Regions from separate parts of the Homo sapiens genome. Here regions 1, 2 and 4 are each linked to region 3. Evidence: promoter capture Hi-C in 16 types of primary human blood cells and fetal thymus (Javierre and others, 2016). All regions are on one chromosome and are shown on one strand. Each heading gives the region's core, a stretch centred on a gene start or on the middle of the fragment in contact. The rest is flanking DNA. Distances are from core to core; before and after follow the strand shown.

What was found. Contacts are between HindIII fragments. The CHiCAGO score rates a contact against its expected background, and 5 or more counts as called.
Region 1: a fragment that was not itself captured here is called in contact with the fragment with the promoter of SERPINB8 in region 3 in 1 of 17 cell types (M0 macrophages); the score reaches 5.8 in M0 macrophages.
Region 2: a fragment that was not itself captured here is called in contact with the fragment with the promoter of SERPINB8 in region 3 in 3 of 17 cell types (non-activated CD4 T cells, total CD8 T cells and activated CD4 T cells); the score reaches 17.0 in non-activated CD4 T cells.
Region 4: a contact is called between a fragment that was not itself captured here and the fragment with the promoter of SERPINB8 in region 3, in 1 of 17 cell types (non-activated CD4 T cells). The highest score is 6.2, in non-activated CD4 T cells.

Annotation. Positions count from the first base shown.
Region 1 is chr18:59,871,786-59,877,414 of GRCh38, forward strand. No RefSeq gene overlaps it. Among named protein-coding and RNA genes, the nearest start is that of PMAIP1, 25 kb to the right of the region's middle. RefSeq lists an enhancer at 4,149-4,408. The HindIII fragment of the contact is 1,664 bases long and covers 2,000-3,663 here.
Region 2 is chr18:59,901,137-59,906,651 of GRCh38, forward strand. It overlaps PMAIP1 (phorbol-12-myristate-13-acetate-induced protein 1), which reads left to right. Exons shown (of 2, transcript NM_021127.3): 2 at 1,511-3,169. The coding sequence ends at 1,617. Among named protein-coding and RNA genes, the nearest start is that of PMAIP1, 3.9 kb to the left of the region's middle. RefSeq lists an enhancer at 3,690-3,859. The HindIII fragment of the contact is 5,229 bases long and covers 1-5,177 here.
Region 3 is chr18:63,968,198-63,973,510 of GRCh38, forward strand. It overlaps SERPINB8 (serpin family B member 8), which reads left to right and starts at 1,884. Exons shown (of 7, transcript NM_002640.4): 1 at 1,884-1,973. LOC105372165 (a long non-coding RNA gene) reads right to left here and starts at 2,307. Exons shown (of 3, transcript XR_935576.3): 1 at 1,126-2,307; 2 at 1-76. It also overlaps a transcript of HMSD not described here. RefSeq lists enhancers at 1,716-1,765, 1,796-1,965, 2,258-2,552 and silencers at 2,026-2,225, 2,236-2,295, 2,366-2,585. The HindIII fragment of the contact is 1,474 bases long and covers 915-2,388 here.
Region 4 is chr18:67,517,954-67,523,030 of GRCh38, forward strand. All of the region lies in intron 1 of DSEL-AS1 (DSEL antisense RNA 1), which reads left to right. Among named protein-coding and RNA genes, the nearest start is that of DSEL, 3.8 kb to the left of the region's middle. The HindIII fragment of the contact is 2,888 bases long and covers 1-2,713 here.

The DNA of each region.
Region 1 (5,629 bases), core at 1,582-4,081, 4.1 Mb before region 3:
GAAGATGAGGAGTCTGATACTTTGAATAAACAAAACTCAGGTCCTGGCAAATATGTATGCAACTAAGTGTTAAATCCCCTGTAGTTCAGACACGTCCGCTGCCTAAGATCACATGCTGAGTTAGAGTCGGGACTGAGTTAGAGTCGGGACTAGACTCCAAGACTCTCCACCGTAGACTTGTTTCCCTTTACTCCCTTCAGTATTTTATGAAATGATTTTTTTTTTTTGAGACAGTCTCCTTCTTTTGCCCATGCTAGAGTGCAGTGGTTATTCACAGGCTCCATTACTGCACACTGCAGCCCTGAACTCCTGGGCTCAAGCGTCCTCCCACCTCAGCCTATGGAGTGGCTGGGACTAAAACCACACATCACTGCACCTGGCTGAAATGACTTTAAGCTTGGAATTCAATGCCTGTTTAAAACTTAAGTACTGACCTGACCGGGCACTGTGGCTCACACCTGCAACCCTAGCACTTTGGGAAGCAGACGCCTGAGGATTTCTTGAGCCCAGGAGTTGGAGATCAGCCTGGGCGACAGAGTGAGACTCCGTCTCAAACAAACAACAAACAAACAAAAAAACCACACACAAGTGTTTTTAGGTATAGCTTCTCACTATTTTCTTGTTTCTTTTCAAAGATTAATGAATTATATACATTTTATATAAAGTTCTGAAATGTATAAAGGATGCAAAGGTTTATTTTTCTTGAAATTTTGAGAACTCCTTTTTATTGTATACCACTTAAAATGGTAAACAGGAGACATATTTGCTGAATAACAATGTAGAACTGAACCTTGTGACTTAAAAACAAATCCTCAGCTGAAAATAGCATCTAGGCGAGATGTCCCTGCACTGGAGAGTGACATCAGAAACTACAGCCACAAACAATTTTCTCAAGATAATGGAACTGATAGGGGGCAGGGGGAGGTTCTAGAAATCTCACAAAGGAGAATCTCAAAAAGAGATCTGGGCTCATAAATGTCTATTTACAAACCCTGGGTTTGAAAAATACACTCAGTGAAAACATGTTGAATTTTGTAAAGGAAATCAGCCAATCATAAAGGATTTTGGCACAAAGCTGGCTTTTACCTTTTTTCTTTCTTTTCTTTTTTTTTTTGGTTTTGTTTTGTTTTTGAGACGAGTTTTGTTCTTGTTGCCCAGGCTGGAGTGCAGTGGTGCAATCTTGGCTCACTGTAACCTCCATCTCCCAGGTTCACGTGATTGTCCTGCCTCAGCCACCAGAGTAGCTGGAATTACAGGTGCCACCATGCCTGGCTAATTTTTGTATTTTTGGTAGAGACGGGGTTTCACCATGTTGGCCAGACTGGTCTCAAATTCCTGAACTCAGGTGATCCGCCCGCCTCAGCCTCCCAAAGTGCTGGAATTACAGGTGTGAGCCACTGCACCTGGCCTGGCTTTTAGCTTTTAAAGCTGGATATTTGAATTTCTAAAATTCTTAATAATTTGCCTTATTTGAATAATTAATTATGCTACTTCTTGCTATTTTGTTCAATGCCACTGTTAGTATTAAAACAGAGTTCAAGCCACTTGAACTGACAACTAATATCCAGCTAGTAGATCTATCCTAATATTGAGTGACACAGGGCCTTCACAATCAAACCTTTGGCTTTTGGCCAGGCGCGGCAGCTCATGCCTGTAATCCCAGCACTTTGGGAGGCCAAGGTGGCCGAATTGCTTGAGCTCAGGAGTTCGAGACCAGCCTGGGCAACATGGCAAAACCCTGTCTCTACCAAAAATACAAACAAATAGCCAGAAGTGGTGGCATGTGCCTGTAGTTCCAGCCACTCACGGGGCTGAGGTGGGAGGATCGCTTAAACTCAGGAGACAGAGGTTGCAGTGAACCTAGATCACTCCATTGCAGTCCAGTCTGGTTGACAGAGTGAGATCTCATCTCAAAACAAAAACAAAAACAAAACAAAAAACAAAAATCTTTGGCTTTCACTCTTGATTCTTTTTTAAAATAGACAAGCACAAATTTCCAAGCTTCTTCTGTGCATCTGGGCAGGAAATGATTATATCTGACGTTGATCTAAAAACAACTGGGTCATATCCTTATATTTATACAAACATTAGAAAGGAGTAGGCATTATGGAAACTTCTGTCTGTTAGAATGAAAGTCCAGATTTTATTCCAAATTGTGTTCTCTATCTGCCACCAAGAATCCTAGAAAACAATGTGAAAAAGCCTGAAAACTTTCCAGATAAAGTTGGAGGAAGCCACCAAGACGCTTCCCACTTTAGAGGCTATTCAGAAAACTCTGCTATCGGGTGAGATAAATCCTTCTGGGACAAAACTCTAAATGGATATGATTCCATTAGAAATTATTACAGTATTTTTATTACAATATCTATTTGGAAAGACACTTTTACAGAACAGCTCCAATTGAAGACTGAAGAAACAACAAGCAACTAAAACCAAAATACAACTACAATAAATCCGTTTACTTTCATAAAATTGTCTCAGGGTTTACGAAGGGATTTTACACATATTTGGTCATTTGAGCGATCAAAGGAGAAATTACATCATGCTGGTTTGTTTTCAAATGGCCTGGACTTCATCTTCCTTGGTGGAATTCATAAACTACTGATGTGACTCATCATCGAAGGCTGACATGTCTCATGCACCCAGAATGCACCGACCACTGTCGCACACTTTACTCTTGATGTTCAAGTTTAGAGGTAGATCACCTCTCTTTAAGAGCTGCCTGAGACAAATCCATGAAAACAGACTTGAGAACTGGTATAGACCAGTGCAAAGAACGTCGGTGTCAGGAAATAGCCTGAATTTTAGAATGAAAACCTCTTATATTTATCTTGTTGGGTTTTGGTTTTTCTCCCCCAGCTTTATTGAGGTAAAATTGACAAAAAAAAAATTATATATATTCATGGCCAGGTGTGGTGGCTCATGCCTGTAATCCCAACACTTCGGGAGACTGAGGTGGGAAGATCACTTGAGATCAGGAGTTCGAGACCAGCTTGGCCAACATGGTGAAACCCTGTCTCTACTAAAAATACAAAAATTAGGCTGGGCGTGGTGGCTCACACCTGTAATCTCAGCACTTTGGGTGGCCGAGGCGGGCAGATCACCCGAGGTCAGGAGTTTGAGACCAGCCTGCCCAACATGATGAAACCCTATCTGTACTAAAAATACAAAACATTAGCTGGCTGTGGTAGTGGGCGCCTGTAATCCCAGCTACTTGGGAGGCTGAGGCAGGAGAATCACTTGAACCCGGGAGGCGGAGGTTGCAGTGAGCCGAGATTGCGCCACTGCACTCCAGCCTGGGTGACAAGAACGAAACTCTATGTGGAAAAAAAAAAAAATTAGCCTGGTGGGGTGGCGCATGCCTTTAATCCCAGCTACTCGGGAGGCTGAGGCACAAGAATCGCTCGAACCCAGGAGGGAGAGGTTGTGGTGAATTTGCACTCCAGCCTGGGTGACAGGGAGAGACTTTGTCTCAATTTAAAAAAATAAAAAATAAAATAAAATATATATATAGTTTACAACATAATGATTTGATATATGTATACATTGTTTACCACAATGATTACCACATGATTACCACAATCATATTAATTAATACATCCATCACCTCACCAAGTTACCATTTTCTGTGCATGTGAATGTGTGTGTGTGTGACAACACTTAAGCTTACTCTCTCAGCAAATTTCAAGTAATCAACACAGTATCCTTAACTATAGTCACTATGATGTACAGAATGTATTTTTTTTTGAGACAGAGTCTTGCTGTCGCCCAGGCTGGAGTGCAGTGGCGCAATCTCGGCTCACTGCAAGCTCCGCCTACCGGGTTCACGCCATTCTCCTGCCTCAGCCTCCCGCGTAACTGGGAATACAGGCGCCCGCCACCACGCCCGGCTAACTTTTTTTTGTATTTTTTAGTAGAGACAGGGTTTCACCGTGTTAGCCAGGATGGTCTCGATCTCCTGACCTCGTGATCTGCCCTCCTCGGCCTCCCAAAGTGCTGGGATTACAGGCGTGAGCCACCGCGCCCGGGCAAGAACATGTTCATCTTGTAACTGAAAGTGTGTACTCTTTGGCTGTCTTCTCCCTATTTCTCTCACCATCCCCCTTGGCCCCTGGCAACCATCATTCTACTCTCTGCTTCTGTGAGTTGATTTTTTAAGATTCCACACAGAAGTGAGATCACACAGCTTGTGTCTTTCTGTGTGTCTTATTTCACTGAGCATAAGGTCCTCCAGGTTGAACCTTGTTTATTTGAATCTCAACTCTGCCCTGCTTTTGCTAGCAATTTAGCCAAGGGCAGTTTTCATATCTTGTAAAATCGAAACAATTCTTACTTTACAGGGTGGCGGTGAAAGTTAAATAAGACACTGTATGAAATGTGTGCCCCTGAAATTACAGTCTAATCCATTTACATTATCCTAGTTATCCAGGAGCCTGTAGGTATAAAAAGCAAAAACAGGAGACATATTTGGTGAATAACAATGTTGAACTGAAACTTGTGACTTAAAAACAAATCCTCAGCTGAAAATAGCACCTAGGAGAGATTACCCTGCACTGGAAAGTGACATCAGAAACCATAGCCACAAACAATTTTCTCAAGATATGGAACTGATAGAAATCTCACAAAAGACAGCCTCAAAAAAGGGGTGTCTTTTATGCTAGCCGTCACTCTTTACCCTTAACTGGTCAGAATTTTGTGCTCTAGTCCCAAAGTTATTTTCAGATAGTCTGCACCTCCACGTTTATTCAAACAGTATTCCCAAGAGCCAAGATATGAAATCATTGATTCCAATAAGAGATGAATGGATAAAGAAAATGTGGTACATATACACCTCGGAATACTATTAAGCCATAAAAAAGAATGAAATCCTGTCATTTGCAGCAACATGGATGGAACTGGAGGACATTATGTTAAGGGAAATAAACCTGGAACAGAAAGTTAAACACAACATGTTCTTACTCTTGTGGCAAAGCTAAAAATAGTTAATCTCATAGAAGTAAAAAGTAAAACAGGCTGGGCACGGTGGCTCACGCCTGTAATCCCAGCACTTTGGGAGGCCGAGGCAGGTGGGTTGCCTGAGGTCAGGAGTTCAAGACCAGCCTGGCCAACATGGTGAAACCCGGTCTCTACTAAAAATACAAAAAACTAGGGGCGCTTGGTGGTGGGCACCTGTAATTCCAGCTACTAGGGAGGCTGAGGCAGAAGAATCGCTTGAACCTGGGAGGCAGAGGTTGCAGTGAGCCCACATCTGGCCATTGCACTCCAGCCTGGGCAACAAGAGTGAAACTCTGTCTCAAAAAAAAAAAAAAAAAAAAAAAGGTTACAAAATTACAACTAGATAGAAGGAATGAATTCTGGTATTCTATACCACTGTAGCATTACCAGAGCTAACGATAATATATAGTTTCAAATAGCCAAAAGGAGGATATTGAATGTTCCCAACAGAATAAATAATAAATGTTTGAGATAATGGACATTGCTAGTTGACTCCGGTCAGATCACAATATATTTATCAAAATATCACTATGGACCCCATAAATATGTATAATTATTATTTATCCATCAAATTAATAGTTAACATATTATATATATAGGTTAAGACATTGCAGTAGAAAAAAAAGACTGTAAT
Region 2 (5,515 bases), core at 1,313-3,812, 4.1 Mb before region 3:
AAGGATCTTACTTATGCATAGCACTTTCTGGTCCGACTTAATTCCCAAGAACAGGAAGCAGCACAAAGTCCCTCTTAAACTTGATTTGATTGATACTAATACATTTATAGGTGTGTAATGCAATTTTTAAAAAATTAAGGAAATGACCGGGAAGTATTTTCTGCCTTGTTTTCTACATTTTTGGTGAAAGGGATAACTTTTCCACTTAGAATTCAGGGCTTCCAGTGTCGGACGCTGAATGGTATTTGGTTTTTCTTTTAGAACTGTATATTAATATATCTCAATCTCTGTAGACAACATGTCTATGTAAATACTTCCCAACATATTTGATCTTGTAGCCCATAAAGAATAACACCTTAAGGGATTTATTAGGTCTCTTGGTGTAGGAGTTAGGAAAGATTTCACTCACTTCTTGTAGAGAGAAATTGGTTGAAATATAGGTTTAAGATTTTGCTTTACTATATATTGACAGCTTTGATTTATTTTGAGCCTAAATACGGTATTTTCAGGGTCGATTTATAAAATAGACCAGATTTTAATTTGTAATCATGATTTTTTAATGTTTGTAATCATGAAGTGTACCCGAAAGACCTCAAGCTGCTCTTTGAAATATTCAAGAAAATTGAAATTATAGTCAGTATAGATACGATATTATAGTCAGTATAGTGTTAACTGCACTTACTGAAAAAAAGTGTACTTGGAAATTATAAGCATCATTTTTCTTAATATTCAGTTAGAATAACTCAATTCCAAAAAGTAGTAAACATGTGAATTAAACATTGCTTATTTTCTGCTCCTCTCATTTCCATAAAGGCAATGGATTGGTACATAATGGGGTTATAGGAAGAAGTGGGTTTACATTAAAATAGAAATGTTTAAATTATTTTAGAGAATGTGGACTTAATTTTAGAATAAGATTTTATGAGTCTTTTATGAAAAAATATCAGCGTTTTTTAACGAGAAAAAGAATACCTCTAGATTTGCCTATATAATGAGAGTATAACCTAAGCTGTAAATTATTGCCATTTGAAAATCAAATCCTACTTGAAAGCCACACAGAACTTGACTTCTGTTTCCCAGCCAACCTTAAATGAAGAGAAAAAGATGACATCATCTAAGGCTGGTGACTTATGCTACTCTTTGTAGCATTGCTTTTAAAATAAACAAAGTGGTTTTACAATGTTCTCACATCCCAAAGAATGATAATGCTACTCTTTGTGGTATTTGACATATTTGAAAGTAAGGTAACACTTGCCTCATCCAGGATGCGTTTTTTAAAAACTCAAAGTAAATGTCTTTATTCTTACCTTAACGATTGCTTTCGGTGAGTCACAATGTGTGTAAGTGTGTGTGTGTGTCACATTTGGAAAACAGGTGCACATAAAGCCAAAGTTAAGAGAAATGCTTCCTGGGATACTCAATTTGTCACTAGTGTGGGCGTATTAGGTTTTGCTGGTTACAGTCTGTAATATCATCAATGTTCATGTCCATGTTTTGCTTTCCTTCTCAGAGCTGGAAGTCGAGTGTGCTACTCAACTCAGGAGATTTGGAGACAAACTGAACTTCCGGCAGAAACTTCTGAATCTGATATCCAAACTCTTCTGCTCAGGAACCTGACTGCATCAAAAACTTGCATGAGGGGACTCCTTCAAAAGAGTTTTCTCAGGAGGTGCACGTTTCATCAATTTGAAGAAAGACTGCATTGTAATTGAGAGGAATGTGAAGGTGCATTCATGGGTGCCCTTGGAAACGGAAGATGGAATACATCAAAGTGAATTTCTGTTCAAGTTTTCCCAGATTATCATTCTTTGGGATGAGAGAACATTATAAAACCACTTTGTTTATTTTAAAGCAAGAATGGAAGACCCTTGAAAATAAAGAAGTAATTATTGACACATTTCTTTTTTACTTAGAGAATCGTTCTAGTGTTTTTGCCGAAGATTACCGCTGGCCTACTGTGAAGGGAGATGACCTGTGATTAGACTGGGCGGCTGGGGAGAAACAGTTCAGTGCATTGTTGTTGTTGCTGTTTTTGGTGTTTTGCTTTTCAGTGCCAACTCAGCACATTGTATATGATTCGGTTTATACATATTACCTTGTTATAATGAAAAAACTCATTCTGAGAACACTGAAATGTTATACTCAGTGTTGATTTCTTCGGTCACTACACAACGTAAAATCATTTGTTTCTTTTGACTCAAATTGTATTGCTTCTGTTCAGATGATCTTTCATTCAATGTGTTCCTGTTGGGCGTTACTAGAAACTATGGAAAACTGGAAAATAACTTTGAAAAAATTGGATAAAGTATAGGAGGGTTACTTGGGGCCAGTAAATCAGTAGACTGAACATTCAATATAATAAAAGAACATGGGGATTTTGTATAACCAGGGATAATAAAAAGAAAAAAGAAGTTAATTTTTAATTGATGTTTTTGAAACTTAGTAGAACAAATATTCAGAAGTAACTTGATAAGATATGAATGTTTCTAAAGAAGTTTCTAAAGGTTCGGAAAATGCTCCTTGTCACATTAGTGTGCATCCTACAAAAAGTGATCTCTTAATGTAAATTAAGAATATTTTCATAATTGGAATATACTTTTCTTAAAAAAAAGGAACAGTTAGTTCTCATCTAGAATGAAAGTTCCATATATGCATTGGTGAATATATATGTATACACATACTTACATACTTATATGGGTATCTGTATAGATAATTTGTATTAGAGTATTATATAGCTTCTTAGTAGGGTCTCAAGTAAGTTTCATTTTTTTTATCTGGGCTATATACAGTCCTCAAATAAATAATGTCTTGATTTTATTTCAGCAGGAATAATTTTATTTATTTTGCCTATTTATAATTAAAGTATTTTTCTTTAGTTTGAAAATGTGTATTAAAGTTACATTTTTGAGTTACAAGAGTCTTATAACTACTTGAATTTTTAGTTAAAATGTCTTAATGTAGGTTGTAGTCACTTTAGATGGAAAATTACCTCACATCTGTTTTCTTCAGTATTACTTAAGATTGTTTATTTAGTGGTAGAGAGTTTTTTTTTTCAGCCTAGAGGCAGCTATTTTACCATCTGGTATTTATGGTCTAATTTGTATTTAAACATATGCACACATATAAAAGTTGATACTGTGGCAGTAAACTATTAAAAGTTTTCACTGTTCTTTTCTGTGTGTTAATTTTGTCTTCATCTTGTAAGCTACTAATTACTAAGTGTTCATTATCAAGCCAAAGTATTTTAACTGATTTCCATCAGCAGACATCCTCTGACCTTCTGACCACACTGTCTCCTCCCAGTAGTTGGAGTAGAAAATATAGGGGAGTTTGCATGATTTCTGCTCTCAAGGGACTTACACTTTAATTGGGAGGGGAAATAGTGAAAAATAGGAAATGAATGCCCAACATAGGTCCTTTTTTTTTTTTTTTCTGAGACAGAGTCTTGCTCTGTCGCCCAGGCTGGAGTGCATTGGCACAATTTTGGCTCACTGCAACCTCTGCCTCCTGGGTCTAAGTGATTCTCGTGCTAAAGCCTCCCCCACACGCCACCACACTGGGTAATTTTTGTGTTTTTAGTAGAGACGGGGATTTCACCATGTTGGCCAGGCTGGTCTTGAACTCCTGGCCTCAAGTCATCTGCCCGCCTCGGCCTCCCAAAGTGCTGGGATTACAGCCTATACAGATTCATGATCTAATTAGAGGTGTTTTGTGAGCTGGCATCCTTGACTGCTCCTGGGTCTGTCTGGCAAGAGGAGCTGCAGTGCAGTTTCCTTTTTGGTGACCTCACGCTTCTTCCTCTGCTTCCAGCCGTAGAGTAGCAAAGATTGCTTCATCTGAGGTTAGTCATGTGCAAAAGTAGGTGTAACTCAATGGCCTTCCTGTTTGAGTGTGAGAACTAAAAGATACCCCTAGTTTTTAGCTTCAATCTGGTAGCCACATCTTCACCCCACCTCTGCCAAGGGAAAGAGTCAGCTGACACCTTAGAATGTAAATTGCCTTCCTAACATGGGAAACGTGAGGGAAGAAGGAGGAGTTACTAGAGGAAAAGAAGAACCAGAGAGCTGGAGGATGCAGGGTTATGGGCAAGATACATAACAATCTGGAGGGAGAGGCTTTTCTCTGGGAAAGTGGGGTGGAGGTGGGAGCTTGGCTTCAGAAAGGGTGGGGACAAACTACATGATTTGATTTGAGAATCACTGGAAGAGTAACTCCTGTCTCTGAGCCTGCTCGCATAGCCAGAATTGTTTTGCTAAAAGTGCACCTTATTAGTTCTCGCCACCACTAGAAAACAAGGAAAAAAAGTGTACCTCAGGCTCTTCTTTTATATAAAGAGTAGCACATGAAGGCTTAGGCACAGATTCACAATCTTCAGATATTAGAGCTATATATTCTTTGAGAACCATATTTTAATGTTAAAAAATGTCCAAGATGTTCAGGCAATTCTAATTATATCTGTTGACTGACAAAAACTGCTAGCTTTTAAATTTGCATTTATATTATAAAAGAAAATGTATCTATCTGTGAATAAGTTGTTCTTCACTTTAAAGAACTGTGTGCTGTGATTTGGGTTTTGGAATCCATTGCAATAACTCTACAAACTCCTCCCTGCCCCACTTCCTCTCAATCACGGAGCAGAAACCACCTAAAGGGTCAAAAATCCTGTAAATCTCATTGTCAATCGTCAAAGGGGACGATCCATCAGGAAGAGAACAAACACCTTAAAAATAGAATAGTGACTGGAAGTGCTGCGGTACAAGGAGTATCCCACTTTAGAATCTTGAAGGTGGACTTTCAAGGCAAAATCATGAATGAGCTGTGTGACCTTGGGCAAGACAACCTCTCTGAGCCACAGTTAATCTCTGAAATTGAGACTTAGATCATCTTTAAGGTCCCCTGAAGTTTGAATCATAAAATGGGATGGCAAAGGAGTCTGAAGGTCTCCCACCATAGTTCCAAGTCTGTCGGCCCCCACTCCTGAGCTCATTTCAGACACTAAGAGGAAAGTTAAGGGTTTGCAAAAAGAAGCAGGGGAGTGGGATTTTAAAAGACCCCCCCCCCCAAATTTCTGTTTTCTGGATTCTTCCCCCAAACATTGATTCTAAATCTTAGAGGAGGTTGAGTGGGAACCTCTTGGACTTGTATTTTCTTAGAAAGGGGAGTTTGCTATGCATGCAAGCTTTCCCAGTGATTGTATCACTGCCAGAATTCCTTCTTATGTGGAGCTGAAAGTAGATAGGGTCACTTGATAGACATACCCTGCGGTGTCATCACGTGAATCTTCTCAAGTAATAGTTCATGGTTAAAGAGCAAAACATTTGTCAATACTGCCCAGGCACTAACTTTAGTTTCTCTTTTAAAAACTTTCAGAAATCTGTTTAGCCAATTCAGGGTGAAACATTCATGCTCACGATTTATTCCCTTATGGTTTTCTTCCAAATATACCATTCTTCAAATCACCAGAGAAACAGGAGAGTTGGTAAGAGTTATAGATGGGGATTTTGGATTCTTTAAT
Region 3 (5,313 bases), core at 634-3,133:
CATGCTGCGTCCTTAACGCCTCACTGCAGGCAATGGTACCCTCCTACAATATACTCCATGTTGCAGCCAGAGGGACCTTCGTAAATACAAATATGATTATGTTTCTCCCCAGCTTAAAATCCTTTTGTGTTTCCCCATAGTCCACAAGGGAACGAAGAAACACCACCAACAGCGTCCACATGGCCTTCACGACATGGCCCTGTGGACACATCAGACGTTGTCTTGCAGTGCCTCATCCACACTATCTGTACCACTGCAGGCCTGGATACGTCATGGTTTTCATGGTGCTATCTTGTGCCTCTTTGCACCTGCACGCACTGTGTTTCCTACATGGGATATCTGTGTTTACAACCAAACTCCCAGGGGCCAAATTATATCCTTTGTAAAGGACTTCAAACCACCAGGCATTTGCTGGAAGTTTCACGGAGGAAAACAAGCATTTTTCATCTTTTAATCTGTTTTGCTGGTCAAAGAGGAAAAGGAGTGGATGGACAAAGTGGGGCCCAAAGTCTGGATCTAGTTCTGACCAACAAGGAGAAATTGATGCACAATGGGGAAGTGACCTTGGCATTTTCAACTGGCAGAGCCGGTAAGTTTGGGCACAGTTCAAATGTGAGTCTGTAGCCACTAGAGAGAGGGGTTTCAAAGTCATGGAGAAAAGATGGGGGTGAATCCTGCACCAAGACTTATTGAGGAGAGTTCTTGGGAACAGTTACTTTTAGGATTCCACAGGGAAATCACTGAGCGAGTTTTACAAAATACTGCTGCTGGGTTCCCTCCTCCAAGAGATCTTTACTTAATTGGTTTGGGGTGCAGAGTGGGAATGTGCATCTTTAAAAGCAGAATTCCCAAACTGGAGAGCTCTGTGAGAGCTTCCTGCAGGAGACATTATTTGAACTGAATTTTGAAAGACAAGCTTGCATGCCAGGAACCCCATGTATATGAACAGAGGATATGAAGGAATGTAAATAATTTGCTATGGCTCTAAAGAAAAGAAGGGAGAAATCAAGACGTGAAGAGGCTTACACTCCTTGCTCAATAGTTTCTAATTTATCTTTTTGGATAAGAGGATGTTATAAAGGATTTTAAACTGAGGTATAAAATAATTAGAATTGGAATGTTTACCTGAACTTCAGAGTAGGCAATAGGTTGGCATGGATCAGAACTGTAGGTAGGAAAATTAATTGTTTAGGAGAGACATGAGACATGATAGAGGTGACAGAGTATGGACAGGAGGAACACAAAAGTGATAGAAGTAACAGGACTGTTGATCATTTAGTTAAAAGAACTGCGGAGGGACACACCCAGGTTTCTGAGAGATGTCCAGTAGTACACAGGTAACATCTACGGCTCGAGACAGGTTAGAGATTTTGAAGAAATAAGTTAAAAGTTGAAACATGAACCTATGGATATAGTGGAGGTCATACAAGAAGATCATATTATAATGAAAAGAAGAGGGCTTAGAATGGTAGGAAAGGAATCAGGATACCAAGCAAAGGAGTCAGGAAAGAAGGGAAGGGTGCTCTGGAAATCCTGGGAAGGTCAAAGAAGAAAGGGCTAAATGTCGCCAACAAACAAAATGAAATAAGACCTGGGATGTATTTTTTGGCCAAGGCAATTAGAAAATGATTAGTATCCTTATCAGGAGCAATTTCAGAGAATGTTTGGGTGGACGTCTAACTACAGTGGAGTCAAACGTGAATCAACGGTGAAAAAAGGACAATAGCCAATGTGTACACTTTTTATAAAAACCACCCTCCAAGGACCAGGCACTGGCCCTCTCTCCGGTGCCCACAGACATCCACACAGGCCCAAAGAATCAGGGATTGCACAAGCCAGAGCAATCGAACGGTTCTGAGTCATCTGCCGGAAGCCTTGCCCTCAATCAAGGCGGACGTGAAGCATCTACAAAGGAGGAATAGTCAAAGCAGCAGCGGCGGCGGCGGCGGCGGCAGCAGCAGCAGCAGCAGGAGGTGGGGGCCTCTGCCAGGTACCGGGCGGGGCAGGCACGGAGGTGCCCAGGTTCCCGCGGAGGCCACCTCTTCCCTGGAGTGCGTGAGAGAGGGGAAGGGAGGAAGGCCAGAGCAGGAATCAGAGCGAGGCAAAGGCGGGCAGGAACTAGGAGAATGACGGCGGGAGGCGGCCGGGAAAGAGAGTCGCGGGGCTGTGGGGGTCGCCCTGGCACCAGCCGGGGTCCCAAGCCCCACCGCGAGACCCGGCGAAGGCCGAGGGCCGGGTCCCGAGAACAGGTGCGCCCAGACCCGCCCTGAATAGGAAGCTGCCCCTGGAGAGGGAGCGTCTGTTTCTAGGCTTGCGATTTGCTGCGCTGTGATTTGCTGCCGGATGGGAGCGGGGGGTGACGCGAGCAGTGAGTTTGGAAGCGCCGGAAGCTTGGGCGGGAGCCCCGGGAGGGCGAGTGGGAGGAGCCGCCGCTGCGGAGGAGGCTCCGGGAGTGCGGGTGGCGGGGCCTGGAATTTCCGTGGCGCCTGGGGCAGATCGGGGAGGCGCCGAGTCCCTGCTCCCCTGGCGCCCAAGCTTGCCCCTGTGCTTACAGCCTATTGGTTGCACCTTCTCCTTCCCTTCCTGTCCCCCCCCTCCGTTCTTTCCACCCCTGCCTTCATCTTTCTGTATCTTTCATATTCTCTTCTTCATTGTCTGCTTCCTCTCAAATGGGATGGGGTTGGGGGTGCTTCTTCACCTACGCCCCTCTCTGTTGCAGCCACCGGCGTTACTTTAACCAATTCCTCACTTTCCAGACACTCTCAGTCCTCTGGCTGCTGCTTCACTCCTGAGACCTCTCCATTCCAAAGGGCCTCACCCAGGGCTGCTCTCCGGGCCCCTCCCGCTTCCCTGCCTCGGGCTCTGCGTAGACCGCGCCCTCTTCCCTGGGTCCACTCGCAGGGGCAGACTCGTCTCCCCAGTTCTCCCAGCACACCCTGATGGCTGGGTCTCAGTCTCCGTTTCGCGCGCGCGCTCTCCCCTCGCCCTCCTCTGTCTCTTCCTTTTACTACCTCCAGATATTGGAAATTCCACAGAAATAGGTGGATTTCTTCCCTTGTGCCTCCACTAGATGTTCTGTGTAGTTTCATCCATTCTCATGGAACCTCTCGGAATCGGGATGCTGATGGCTCCAGGTCTCTGGCTCTAGACAGTCTACTCATCCCCGTCCCTAACTGTTTACAAACATCCTTGGCTGTCTTTGTTACAGGTTCACCTGGTATGGTGTGTTCCACGCATCTCAAATGGAACAAGTCATATTCCCCATTCCAGCCTGACTCCTCATTTAAAATTCCAGTGGTTCACGACCCACCCTGAGTATGAATTTATAACAGCTAGGCGCCTCGGGACTGGGCCCTCCTGTGCTCTGTCCCTATGTGAGCAGTCACTGCCTGGCAATTCCAGCCCCCACTTCTCTATTGCAGACAATCCCTCTGCTTTCAGCAGTCCCTGGCCCATGGTGGTGGCCTACGCGCCAGCTCCCCAGCCTCTTTTCATACCAAATACTGAGCCGGGTTATCTTTCTAAAGCCCCAATGCACTCATATGAGACGTTTGTTTAAAAACCATGCATGGCTTTCCAGACCATAATCTCAAGTTCAAACTCCTAAATGTGGCATAAGGGTCCGTCCTATCTCACTACCACGTGGCTCACAGGAAACCATAGAAACCCACCCCAGGGGCACCACACAAACCATGCCCTTTGTCTTCCTGCCACATTCTTGGCACCTGCTAATTCCTCAGCCTATTATTTGCATCCCCCATTTCACCACCTACGGAATGCCTGCCCGGCTTTTCTTTTTTCTTTTTTTTTTTGATATGTGGTTTTAATAAGTTTCATTACCTATTGAATAAATACAAAAGAACATTTAAAATGTGTATTGAATTATAAAGAACAGCAGTACAACCCATCACCCAGTTTAATAACTGGAATATTGTCATCGCTGGAGGCCGTGTTTCCCTACTGATCACACCCTCCTCCCTCATCACATCCGCTTCCCTCCCCTCTGTATCACCACCTTCCTGAGTTTCATGATAATAACGACATAGTTTTACTGTCTACACATGCATCCAGAATGATTTAGTTTAGCCTGGTTTTGAACTTTACGTATATGGAATAATACTGTATTACTCTGTGGCTTAATCCTTTAATACATTATTTGTGGGAATTGTCCATGTCAAAAACTAAAGAACTTATAGATATGGTTCTTTCAGTTTTTATTGTTCTGTATTCCATTATACTAATATACTACAATCCATTTATCCATTCTGTTTTTGATGGACATTTGGGTTGTTTCTTTTTTATTATTATACTTTAAGCTCTAGGGTAAAAGTGCACAATATGCAAGTTTGATACATAGGTATACATGAGCCATGTTGGTTTGCCGCACCCATCAACTAGTCATTTACATTAGGTATTTCTCCTAATGCTATTCCTCTCACATCCCCCCCGCCCACCCCACAGGCCCCGGTGTGTGATTTTCCCCACCCTATGTCCAAGTGTTTTCATTGTTCAGTTCCCACCTATGAGTGAGAACATGTGGTGTTTGGGTTTCTGTCTTTGTGGTAGTTTGCTGAGAATGATGGTTTCCAGCTTCATCCATGTCCCTACAAAGGACATGAACTCATCGTTTTTTTATGGCTGCATAGTATTCCATGGTGTATATATGCCACATTTTCTTAATCCAGTCTATCATTGATGGACATTTGGGTTGGTTCCAAGTCTTTGCTATTGTGAATAGTGCCGCAATAAACATACATGTGCATGTGTCTTTGTAGTAGCATGATTTATAATCCTTTGGGTGTATACCCAGTAATGGGGTGGCTGGGTCAAATGGTATTTCTAGTTCTAGATCCTTGAGGAATCGCCACACTGTCTTCCATAATGGTTGAACTAGTTTACAGTCCTACCAAGAGTTTAAAAGTGTTCCTTTTTCTCCACATCCTCTCCAGCACCTGTTGTTTCCTGACTTTTTAATGATCACCATTCTAACTGGTGTGAGATGGTATCTCATTGTGGTTTTGATTTGCATTTCTCTGATGACCAGTGATGATGAACGTTTTTTCACGTGTCTGTTGCCTGCATAAATGTCTTCCTTTGAGAAGTGTCTGTTCATATCCATTGCCCACTTTTTGATGGGGTTGTTTGTTTTTTTCTTGTAAATTTGTTTGAGTTCTTTGTAGATTCTGGATATTAGCCCTTTGTCAGATGGGTAGATTGCAAAAATTTTCTCCCATTCTGTAGGTTGCCTGTTTACTCTGATGGTAGTTTCTTTTGCTGTGCAGAAGCTCTTTAGTTTAATTAGATCCCATTTGT
Region 4 (5,077 bases), core at 20-2,519, 3.5 Mb after region 3:
ATAAATTTCAAATCATTTAACTTTGAGGTGAAATGTGGCCTCTAACTCCTCATCACTCTTCTGTTTTGGCCCCGTAGTAACCCCTAGCCCAGTCCAAATAGCCACACTTGCTTTTGCTTGGGTGCTTCAGTAACTATGCTTATTCCATTCTTTCCCTCACAGTGTCCTTTACCCAACCACCCCACTTACTAGTTAAAATTCTTCTGACTGTTGAAATTATCTGATCATCCAGGTCTCAACTCAGATGCTTACATTCTTCTGTAAATAACTCCTAAGTTTCCCTAGCCAGAATGTATTACTCCAGAACTATATCATTTGTACCTATATTCGGCCGTTTAGGTTGTTTATTTTCTGCTTTCTATTTCAACTGGTTGACTCCTGTACCCTATTCAAAACTCCTTCAAGTCATGAGTAGCACTCAAGTCCCCTTTGTAAGTACTATATCTGCTTTTGAAATGAGTTGAACCTCGAACAATTGGGCTGATACAGAGCCTCGTCTCCTCCACTGAGGTTTATTCCCAAACAAGGATCCTCTTCTGACACAACTTCCTGTAAAATCTGGATTGTGCCTCTACATGGCCCCTGATAGAGGAAGAGGACCCATGGCCTCCAACCACATTTATGAGAGAGTAGAGTTGGGGGAAACGGGGAGCTGACTCCAGAGATTCCTATCTGTTTGCAGAGGGGAGCCTAGAATTTAGGGTTAGTAAACACAGCTACTAGATGTACAGAACATTTCTCAGAACAAAGTGTGGGGCAGGGTTATTTCTATGGATTCAAAGTGTCTCATGATGCGAGGGCAAGGTGAGTCAGAGAGAATTAATGCGCGAACATCTGCCAGGCAAATATTCTTCCAATGTTGTTTTCAGATTTTGAAATATCAGTATGATCATTTTCACTTTAGAGAAGAATGAATTCAGGTACCGACATTGTGGCCTTTCAGCTCTGCCCCATGCATCTGTGCTGAAGCAGTGGGGATGCAGCTAGCCTCCCAGCATTCTCAGATGGGCTTTCAGACTAATTCATTTTGAACAGACATCTTTGCATAGTGGTAAAATGTGAATGCATTAAAATAAAACAAGAGCCACAACTGAACAATTCAAATCATTGGCAGAAAGGGTGGTAGGTAAATGGCACTGTCAAAAATGAAGAGAGTCTTGTTTTCTGTGAACTAAAAATGGATAGCTCCAATTATTGCTCCTTCCACACATGAAGATGGTACAAAGTTAGTTAATTATAAATAATGCATCCGACCATAGAAGGGATGAGCTATATGCTATGTTATTGTACATTAAAAACCTTTATGAGTGTGGCAAGAGACACATGTACCAACAGCTGCTAAATTCAGAATCCTGGAGCAGTATCTTATTTTAATGTAAGTGAAGAACAGTGCAGTCTATTGCTCTGGGGATTTCTCTCTATATAAAAGGATCTTAAATCTACATGAGATTTTACTCCGTGATTTCAAAGTACTTATGAAAATCTGTTTTCTTTATTTGCCTATCTTTCAACCTACCCACAACCACCTATCTTACAACAGAAACAATGCTTTCTAGAGTAGATTCTCCAGAACAGAAGCCTTTCTCGCGCTCCTTTCCTTCCTTTCTTCCTTCCTCTCTCTCTCTTTTATTTTTCTTTTAAAATTTTATTTCTCAACATCTATCCCAGAGCCTGGCACTTTTTGAAAAATGTTTGGTGAATGTTTAACATGAATTATCGCCCCCATTTTATGACAGAAGAGAAAAAGTCATAAAGGTCTAAAGTGGGTTACTACATTCTAAGCAGAGTCACACACTCTTTCTCCTGACTGTGCTGAGAAGCCTCTTACCACACAACCCATAATTGGAGCTATGCCTTGAGGTGACTTAATTCAAGTGAAACATGAGACTGGAAAGTCATACAACATTTTCAAGAGGATTTCTGCATTAATTGTATATGTTAAGATAGGCAAATTCAAGCTCTGAGCCTGAGAACGATAAAGTACAAGCCATAAAACAAGCCTAGACACTACATAAAGTCCCTGATCTAAAATCACATTTGTCCATGATCTGTTATTCTGGTGGTTTTTAAATAAATGGGGCCAAGACATTCAAGAACTAGTTGCTGTGCATTCAGCAACTCCTATGCACAGGTCTCCAATACCTGGGCTTTCAAGCAGCATAGCCATTTGAATATGGAGACGGCTTTGTTATTCTTCTCATAGCATAATCCACCTTTGCTACAGCTTTGGCCGTGAAAGCTCAGATGCAGATTTCTCGAACCACTTACCAGGGCCAGATGTATATTATATTGATCCACTAGCAGTATTAGAACTAGTGTCTGCCCCAGAGGTTAGGGATATAGCATCTGTAACTGTTTAGAAACAGACACCAAACTTAAGCTGCAAATTTTATTGCCCAGTTGGCCAGCAGTAATAGGCCACACCAATAATAAAGACAAAACCACAAGTTTAAAGCAGGCAGTAGAGTCTGGAAATACTTTTTTTTTTTCCGCAATTGCTTTGAATACAAAACATCTCAAAATGACAGGGATTTTGCCTGCAGAGTTGCTAATGAAGATGTGGCTAAGAGTGTTTCTTGAGTTTGTTTATCCAGCTGCACAAGAGTCAGTATGACAGTAAGTAGATTTATTAAAACTTAAAAATACCAAAGCCAAATTCTGGGGGAAAAAGTTTCCCCATAAGTCTACTAAAGCCTTGAATTCATAAATGAGAAGCTTTATTGCTACCATATTTGCTTACATACAGTTTAGCTTTTGATATGAAAGAAAAATTTAAACAAAGTAAAACTTGCAAAGGGATCATAAGATGTTTTCTCCAGGGCTCTTCCACCCTCCCTTTCCCCTGGCCTGGTATCCTTACACCAGTGTTTCTCAACAGGACATTTGGCAATGTCTGGAGAAATTTCAATGTTGGTCTCGGTTAGTGGGAGGGACTGCTGGAATCTAGTGAATAGAGGTCAGGATGCTACTAAATAGCCTGCAATGAACAGGACAACTTCTCCTCTCCTCCTGCCTCACAAGTCAAAGAATTATGCAGACTAGAAAGTCAGTACTGCTGAGAATGAGAAACTCTGACCCATCCCACTGACTCTAAAAATTGATTATGTGCTAATTGTTGGTAGTTCAAATCAATTCCTAAATTGTCCCCCTGACTTGCCAATTACCTATTTGCAGTTTGTTCTAGAGCCAGCCGTTATGGCTAAAATGTATGTGTCCCTCCAAAATTTACATGTTGGAACCAAATTGGTAGTATTAAGAGGTGGAGCCGTTTGGGAAGTCCTCTTCTCATGAATGACATTAGTGCCGTATAAAAGAGGTGCCTTAAAAAAAAGGTGCCCTAGTTTCCTTTTGGCCTTTTGGTCTCAGTCTATGTTGTGCTTATATAACAGAATACCTGACCCTGGGTAATTTATAATGAATGGAAATTTATTTCCTCACAGTTTTGGAGGCTAGGAAGTCCAAGGTCAAGGTGCTGGCAGATTAGGGCCCAGTTTCTCTACTGCAAAGATGGCACCTGAAAGCTGCAGCCTCCAGAGATGAAGGACATTATATCTTCACATGGCAGAAAAGGAGGAGAAAGAGAGAATCCACTCCCACCAGCCCTTTTTATAGAGCATTAATCCATTCTTCATGAACTAAACAGGTTTCTCATTTGGCCACACCTCCTAACACTGTTGCATTGGGGAATACGTTTCCAACACTTGGATTTGGGGGAACACGTTGAGACCATAGCACCTTCCATCTCTTCCTCCACATGAGGACACAGTGTTCATTTCTTTATTGCCTCTTCCATTATGTGAGGATTCAGCAAGAGATATCATCTTGGAAGCAGAGAGTAAGCCCTCCCCAGACACAGAATCTTCTGGCACCTTGATCCTGGAATTTCCTGCCTTGAGAACTCTGAGAAATAAATTTCTGCTATGTATAAATTACTTTATCTGTGGTATTTCATTATAGCAGCAAGGACAGACTAAGACACTAGCTTTCTCTAATTTATTCACAGATGACTTTTTGTTGTTTACCAGCTACTGGCTCCATTTTTCTTCATTTGACCTAAAATACTTCTAAACCTAGCTGTCTCAGCTCTTATAAAAACTTGAGCTATGCCTACAGGCATAATTGGCAGTAAACTAATTACTACCAAATAATATTTGGAATGATGTGTCTTTTTGGGTTATCAGAAATGCCCTTCTGATGTTAATAAGAGAATGTCATTTTACCCACAACCCCTGTACATATCATGCACCCCAATTACCTTTACTATCAGATTTATTTCCACTGGAACAGTGTTTTTCAAATTACAGTTCTTAGACTACCAGTATCAGAAAGTTCATGGTGCTATTAAAAATGTCAATTATCAAATCTGTCTCAGCCTTATGGATTAAGAATCTCAGTGTGTAACCTGGTATTCTGTACCTTAAAATGTTCAAGTGCCTAACAAATTTTGAGAGTCACTGTTCGAACATAATTCTCATTCTTTTCTCCTTGCCACACACACCTGTGCCTGAGGGTTTGTTTGGCTACATAACAGAAACATTCTCAGGCTGGCAGAAGCATAAGGACTGATTAGGATTAGGAACTGGTGTTGCAGAATAACTCAGAAACATGTATGTAGCTATTTTGCAGAACGTTTAATAGTCTTGCCTTTAAATTATTTATTCACATGTGAGGAAGTGAGATATTAGAGTCAAGCAATAAAGGCAAATAAGATTTATAAAACAGAAAAGAGAAAAAAATGAATACAACCTAGAAACAATGAAAGTTGTATTTTGGGGGGCAAGTTGATTAAATGGCAGTTAGCAGAGGAGTTTGTTGCCCAGAAGTGAGAGTTTAGCTGTAGAGCAGAAGTGACAGGTTCCTCTGTAGAGTGTTGGCCACTAACCCGCCATCAGCACCTGTATCTTACTCAGATCTAGCCAGTATCATATTTCCTCAGTAGGCTTCCTTGCTGGAAAGCCACTAAAAGTTTCCTTTTTCCATCCATGTGAGGCAGGGAGACTTCTCCCTCTGCTCCTGAGCATTTACTTCCTTCTCTTTTTCTGAGAATCAATTTCACCTTCTCCTTCATGGTGATACA